2 separate regions of the Homo sapiens genome follow, and region 2 is linked to region 1. The links are contacts of gene promoters, found by promoter capture Hi-C in blood cells and fetal thymus (Javierre and others, 2016). All regions are on one chromosome and are shown on one strand. Each heading gives the region's core, a stretch centred on a gene start or on the middle of the fragment in contact. The rest is flanking DNA. Distances are from core to core; before and after follow the strand shown.

Region 1 (3,721 bases), core at 776-3,275:
AGGCAGGAGAATGGCTTGAACCCAGGAGGCAGAGGTTGCAGTGAGCTGAGATGGCGCCATTGCACTCCAGCCTGGGTGACAGGACAAGACTCCTTCTCAAAAAAAAAAAAGTAAAATATAAAAATAGCAGTGACCATTTATTGTCTACTCTATGCCAGCCATTTTACATATTTTATTTATTTATGTGTTTATTTTTTGAGACGAGGTCTCTCTCTGTCGCAGGGGCTGGAGTGCAGTGGCACGATCATAGTTCACTGCAGCCTCAAACTCCTGGGCTCAAGCAATCCTCCCCGCTCAGCCTCCTGAGTAGCTAGGACTACAGGCTTTCACCACCATGCCCAGCTTACATATATTATTTATAATAAATAATAGCCAGGCGCGGTGGCTCACGCCTATAATCCCAGAACTTTGGGAGGCCGAGGCAGGAGGATCACTTGAGGTCGGGAGTTGGAGGCTAGCCTGACTAACATGGAGAAATCCCGTCTCTACTAAAAAATATAAAATAAGCCAGGCATGGTGGCGCATGCCTCTAATCCCAGCTACTTGGGAGGCTGAGGCAGGAGAATCACTTGAACCTGGGAGGCGGAGGTTGCAGTGAGCCGAGATCGCGCCACTGCACTCCAGCCTGGGCAACAAGAGTGAAACTCCATCTCAAAAAAAAAAAGAAAAAAAAAAGATAAAACTAATAGATGGATTGCTCTTGTGGTTAAAAAAATTCACAAAAATAACATTACATAGCTGGGTGCGGTGGCTCACGCCTGTAATCCCAGCACTTTGGGAGGCCGAGGCGGACGGATCACGAGGTCAGGAGATCGAGACCATTCTGGCTAACACGATGAAACCCCGTCTCTACTAAAAATACAAAAAATTAGCCGGGCGTGGTGGCAGACGCCTGTAGTCCCAGCTACTCAGGAGGCTAGGGCAGGAGAATGGCGTGAACCTGGGAGGCGGAGCTTGCAGTGAGCCAAGATAGCACCACTGCACTCCAGCCTGGACGACAGAGTGAGACTCCGTCTCAAAAAAAATAAATAAATAATAATATAATAATAATAAACATAACGCAGAGTAAAAAGCAAAAGCCTTTTTCAGTCCTCCCCCAACCCTGCATCCCTCCCCAGATGTCACCAATACTACTGAGTTTGGGGTGCATTCTTCCATGTATAAATGCATAAAGAGACATATCCAAGCCCATCATATATATTAGATTAGTCCCATTTTGCAGATGAGCAAACTGCACCACACAGGGGTGGAAGTATTCGTCGAAGACCACATAGCTGGCAAGAGCTGGAGCTGAGGTTCAAATCCAGATCAGTCTGACTCAGAAGTCAGCACGCTGTCCTTTCGCTGAGTCCCGAGTGTAAAACCTTACTGAGGAAAAAAACCGAAGCTCATAGAAGTCCCAGCAATCTGAACCACCACTGCCCAACACGGGAGAGGCAGGAGTGACTGAGTTTGCAGGGGAGGCTGCGTGGAGGGGAGAGCCTGGACCCACGCGGATCGGGGGCCGCGGGTACCTCCGTCCAGGGCGCTTCCCTCCCGGACCAGCGGCTCTCCCAGGCCGCCTCGCTCCAGGCGCCCCTGGAGGCTGCCCCGCCTGTGCCGCGCCGCGCCGCGCCGTGTTCGCACCGCTCACCCGAGCGGCTCGGAGGCCCGGGTTGCTTAAGTCCCTAGTCTCAGCCGGGCACGAGGACAGCGCCCGGGAGCGACTGCAGCCTCTGACCCCGGCTGGGCCAGCCCGGGCTGCTTAAGTCCCTAGTCTCGGCCGGGCACGAGGACAGCGCCCGGGAGCGACTGCAGCCTCCGACCCCGGCTGGGCCAGCCCGGGCTTCAGCTCACGCAGCCGTCGGGGGGCGCCCGGCGCGCAGCCCGGGGTGGGTGGTCCTGGCGAGTGGGGCTGCGAGGCAGACCGGCCCCACCCCGGGGCCGCCGAGGGGCGCGGGCTGGGGCGCGTGGCGGGCGGGGCTGGGCGGGGGCGGGCGCGAGGGCGGAGTTGCGGCCGAGGCGGCCGTGACCGGAGCGCGGCTCAGGGGCCCCAGTGGCCGCCGCGGAGCGAGGTTGCCTGGAGAGAGCGCCTGGGCGCAGAAGGGTTAACGGGCCACCGGGGGCTCGCAGAGCAGGTAGAGACCTCCCCGGGACCCCGGCCCCGGCCGCCCCTCTCCCGGGTCCCGTTAGACCGCCCGCCCCGCGCGCCCGCGTCGTCCCCTCTCCCTGCGCTGTGCGGTCGCGACCCCGCCACGACCCCGGACCCAGCTCCGGTGGCCTCGGACAATCTTCCAGCCCCTGGGGTCGAATTCCTGGGGAGGGAGTCTGATCCCGTGGAACTCTGGCCCCATCACCCGGGCGGGGAGTGAACCAAAATTCCTCCTAAGTCACATAGTAAAGTTGGAAAACAGACCCATGACCTCCCCGCGCGGCCGGTGCCTCCTGCCCTCTCTCTAGGAGGGTGCTCTCGGACGGTGTGTCCCCCACTGCACTCCTGAACTTGGAGGACAGGGTCGCCGCGAGGGACGCAGGTGGGTGCCCTTGATCCAGCTCAGCCCGATGGCAGAAGAGGTTGACAAAAAAGAAAGACACCTGTTGGGGTGGCCTGCCAGACCCAGGAGTGGAGGGCTCTGAGGGCCCGGGAATTCGGACTCAGGACAGGGATTCTCCATGGCTAGGCCCAGAAACACAGGGTCCAACCACTCTCCAGCAGGGAGACCTGGGGGTGAAGGGGTGAGCCCTGCGCAGGTCTCTGTTCCTTGGTCTTCACTGGGCAGTGTGGAGAGGTGTGGCCAGGAGGAGCCCGCGTTTGTCCAGACCAGGGTCTACTCTGGCACCAGAGTGACCACCTCTGACCTCTCCTTTCCTCGTCCTGGGCCGGGAACGACACCAAATGAGGGACATGGAAAGGGGTGAGAAGCATAAATGTGCGTGTGTTTCTGCAGAGGAGGGGGCATGGGCCCCTGCCGGGCTGCGCAGGGGAGGGTGGGGTGGGACTTTTCCAGAGAGGGAGCCAGGCCTGGCCCGGGCCCCGGGAGCTCACGTCACCCCCACCCCTCACTTCTCCAGGGAACTGCCAAAGCCAAACCCAGCTCGGGATGGGATTATGTGTACTGGGTAGACCCGTGGAGAGGGGCTGCGAGAAGAGATCTCGGTGGCAGAGAGAAGCAGAGGCAGAGAGGGCATGAAGAGGGGTCGGCATCAGAGAAGGGGCAGGCAGTGACTATCACCCCATTTCTTCTTCCCTCAGCTGGAGTAACAAGAGTCAGGCAGAGCCTGAAGACTTGGGTGGAACATGGGCCCTTCTCTGGAGATCCTGGCCTCCCCCGTTCAGTCAGGGTGGAGTTGCTGACCTTAGTGGCCGGCCCAGCCAGGGGAAGGAGTGGCCATCGGCAACCCCCACCCCAACCCCAATCCCTGAGGCGCCCGCTCTGGCTCAGCCACTCTGACCCCTCCCTCAAATTCCGAACCCTAGGTCTCAGGGAGGGCAGTGGGGCTGAGTGTCTGCCCCCAGGCACATTCCTACCCTTCTCTTGGTCATTTTCTGCCCCAGAGCTGGCCCACCTCAGCAATGCGAGGGCTCCCTGGATTCCTCTCCCGGGTGCCTTTCAGATCCAACAGAAACAGATTTTTTTTTTCCTGGAAAGCAGAACTAAGAGTGGGATGAGGAGCAGGGGTGGGAAGGACTCAAAGTGAGAAGAAGGGGGCAAAGAGAGTCAGGCTTGGTGGCTGGGGTGGC
Region 2 (3,721 bases), core at 1,093-3,592, 260 kb after region 1:
CAGAAATGGGGGATAGAAACTGGACAATCAGAATGGGCTCAGTGCGTTTCCTCCAGGGTCCCTAGCAGGCTTGGAGACAGACAAATAGCAAGGTGGTAGTGGGGTTCAGAATACACAAAGGAGAGATTTCCGTCTAAGTTTTGCCTCCTGATCATTTCTTCGAGGCGTTCTTCTCTTTCGTGCCTAAATTCTGGTACTTTCCCAGATCTTGTCAGAAGAGGACAAGGGAAAATAGGACAATGTTTCCTGTTTTCTGAGACATTGTATATCTCCTCATTCTCCTTATGCATTTCTTCTTCCTTTTTCTCTCCCTTCCCTCCTTAGGCAGGAAACTGCCCTAATCTTAACCAGATGCTGCGGGCAAGGTTTTTTATTTTTCCCCTAACAACAAAAACCCACTGTGGCTGCCGCAAAGGACAAGAAGCCTCAGATCCAAGGTTTGTTAGAAGAATGTTCAGACTGAAAAGCAATGTTCTATGATGATGAAATTCACAGCTTTTCATAAGTTTACTCTAGTTAGCTTCACTCATTTCTTGCATTGGCTTTCTTAATTACAAATCCTCCATTTTAAGAACAATTTGCAGCCTGCAGCATGACATATGGCTTACACAATTGCTTATAGTCCATTTACATGTAATTTTGCAAACTGGCAAAATGTCCAGTAGGACATTTAAAAACTAGAGTGTTAAGGGCTTTGAGATGTCTCAGTGAACAGGAAGCACTGAGCTACTACCTCCCCATACCACTCTCCTCCTCCTCACTAAGGAGTTAACCGTTTTGATCCTTGTTGGCCAAAGTAGAAAACACTGCAGAAAGGCCACTCTTGAAGGATGGGGAAATGATTCCCTATATACTTTGCTTTTACTAACAATCATGTATGTATATATATAAATCATACAAGGAATTCTACAGATTTCCAGGCAGATTTTATTTAGCCAGGGAATGACCTAAGAAGTGCATCTCTGTTTTCATCTGCAGAGGCTAAAAGTTTATTGTGATCCTCAAGTCACTACATCCCTAATACTCAGAGAATTGACAGGAATGAAAAGCTAAAAGATCTAGGAAGTTGCAAACGTTACCTGCTGATGGAAATCTGTTGTCTGGCTTCGTTTCGGCAGCAAAGTGTGGGCACACCATCAGGGGTGCTAGATTTATTCCATCGGGATTGCGGAAGTCAGCTCCAGTGATCGGCTGGAAAATTTGGGTAAGAGGAGGAGGCGGGGATAGAAATGCTGAGAGAAGGAAGGGTAGGGAGGAGGGAAGGAGGCAGTGGATTTGCAGTGTTTCTGTGTGTATGCAGCATGTGTGCCAGGGTAGGGAATTACTAGCTATTTAGTCTCACAAGACTGTCTTTGGTGGCAAATAACAAGACCTCAATATCTATTGACTCAAATAGGAGCTTACTTTCTCTTTTGGTGAGTAAAAGGAAGGACACAGCCCTAGTCTCTCCCATCCTTCTTCTTCAATATCTTTATTTTAATATTGGGGGATTATATCTTTTCCTACCCCTTTCCTGTTAGGATTTACCTCTCCAACATTGAAACCTATTTTCATATTTGTGTCTGACTCTCACCTCTGGGATGCGGTAATGAACATAAAAGGCTATAAAAGAATAATGTAATGGAAGCCATAGGCTCCAGAATTCTTTGTATTTTTATAAGCTTGTTGGTTGCAAGTTGTCATTACTTCCAGGCAGAATAGTTTTCCCAGCCTAATGTGGTTTTGCTGAAGGAGGATATGCCCAGAAAGTCCAGATGAAACTGTCTTTAAAAGTAACCAAAAACAGCAGTCCTGGTTATTTATGACAGCACTTGAATCAATGCCGTAAGTTCTGATGGACTCACATGTGACTCTGTTGCTAAAACTCTCAGGTGGTGGGATGCCCGATAAACATCATCTGTCTCAATTAAAATCCCCAATCTAGGACAAGTCACATGAGCTTCTCCAAATGCTTCCCCAACATCCAAGCATGTGACAGATCATAAGAATCTAGCTGATTCCTCAAACCACACCCCAAACTTCATTTTCTTCCATAAACAGATGTGGGGAAGGAGAAAAAAAGGCTTCTTGGAATAGAAAGGATAATAAATGGGATCTGTAATAGACTCAGTTTCTAGCTGGATTCCATGCATAAACCCTCAAAAATACAGGCTTATGCCTCTGGATTTTAAGAGCTGCTAACAGGCTAGGCGCAGTGGTTCACGCCTGTAATCCCAGGCCTTTGGGAGGCCAAAGCATGTGGATCACCTAAGGTCAGGAGTTCGAGACTAGCCTGGCCAACATATAGTGAAACCCCATCTCTACTAAAAAAAAAAAACACAAAAATTAGCTGGGCATGGTGGCACACACCTGTAGTGCCAGCTACTTGGGAAGCTGAGGCAGGAGAATTGCTTGAACCCAAGGGGCAGAGGTTGCAGTGAGCCAAGATCGTGCCACTGCACTCCAGCCTGGGTAACAGAGCGAGACTCCATCTCTCACACACACACACACACACACACACAAAAAAAAAAAAAAAAAAAAAAGTTGCTAATGAACCAACATAGTCTCCTAGAGGGAAACCAGGTCCAGACTTGAACAGTTTAAATTTCACTCATTTTAATCCAGAAAAGGACATACTGGGGGAAGGCATCCAGATGTGCCCTAGTGGTTTTCAAGTCCCGACTCTTCCCCTCTCTCCCAAGAACCCAGGCAACGCCCACCCCAAAACCCCCACCTCATGGTCAGAGCATTCCTGCTGATGTTACTCAGAATGTGTCAGGATCAGGAGGACAAGTGAGGGGGGAGGCGTGCAATGTGATCAGAACCCTATGATTTCTGATTCCTGAAATTAAAGACACAATGTGCCTTATGTTTGTATGTCTGGAGCTTAAACTATAGATTCCTCTGGTTGTGGGTGCCTGTTGTTTATGAACTGGAAAGGAATGATAAAGCCGCAATCAAGATCACACAACACAAGAAATTTTACAAAAGGAAAAAATATTTTGTTTGAAAATCTTTGCTACATGTCATTATTTTTGCCACTGTAAAGCTTAGCACAGATGCCAGCAATACAGAAATGGCCAACAAGAAAACAAAACAGTCAAAAATAAAACCCTGAAGGAAAAGCAAAAACAAAACCCCCAGAGCATCTTCTCGCTATCCTCCCCTTCCCCAAAAGCCCTATAATAACTGTACAATATTATAGTCCTGATCACATTTAAAAAGTCGATTATTAAAAAACAAGGGTTCCATTGGAAACTCAACTTTTTGGTTTCGTAAATTGTGATATAAATATATATGTATACTGTAAGTGTGCACATAGAATAAAAAAATAAACTGTCTCCTTTTTTACTCCACTACCTGGCACCAGACTGGAGACATAAGGAAGGGAAACTCAGCAAATGGACATTCCTTTGGCCTCTTCAAGGCCACCCTTGCTCCTCAGTCCCCTATGACTACATTTAATATATCTTCTCATTAATTCAGTCTTGCACTTTAGCTACTGGCCAAAGCCAATTTAAAAAAAAAAAAAAAAAAGCTGGTATCTACGACTGTTACCTGAGGAAGGTAAAGGGTGAGGGTAGTAACCTGTATCCGCATTTATATGGCTATTGTTAATTACCAAGTGACCCTGTTGAGATGGGTGTCCAGGCCCCATCTATCATACGGAATTATGATACTTGCACTCTAAAGCAAAACCCAATCTCAAGATTGGAGGGAGCAAAGAGGAAAAACCTCTTAG

What was found. The method cuts DNA at HindIII sites, captures the fragments that hold promoters and counts their contacts. A CHiCAGO score of 5 or more calls a contact.
Region 2: a fragment that was not itself captured here is called in contact with the fragment with the promoter of ADAMTSL4 in region 1 in 4 of 17 cell types (endothelial precursors, megakaryocytes, erythroblasts and 1 more); the score reaches 12.1 in endothelial precursors.

The regions. Positions count from the first base shown.
Region 1 is chr1:150,547,383-150,551,103 of GRCh38, forward strand. ADAMTSL4 (ADAMTS like 4) reads left to right here and starts at 2,026. Exons shown (of 19, transcript NM_019032.6): 1 at 2,026-2,117; 2 at 2,440-2,513. It overlaps LOC124904417, which reads left to right and starts at 2,908. Exons shown (of 1, transcript XM_047438226.1): 1 at 2,908-3,721. The coding sequence starts at 2,908. The coding sequence ends at 3,678. It overlaps ADAMTSL4-AS2 (ADAMTSL4 antisense RNA 2), which reads right to left. Exons shown (of 6, transcript NR_187269.1): 6 at 1,182-1,368. RefSeq lists silencers at 1,211-1,505, 1,437-1,586, 1,757-1,896 and an enhancer at 3,232-3,721. The HindIII fragment of the contact is 42,411 bases long and covers 1-3,721 here.
Region 2 is chr1:150,807,135-150,810,855 of GRCh38, forward strand. CTSK (cathepsin K) reads right to left here and starts at 1,126. Exons shown (of 8, transcript NM_000396.4): 1 at 1,080-1,126. It overlaps ARNT (aryl hydrocarbon receptor nuclear translocator), which reads right to left. Exons shown (of 22, transcript NM_001668.4): 22 at 2,579-3,721. The HindIII fragment of the contact is 1,367 bases long and covers 1,660-3,026 here.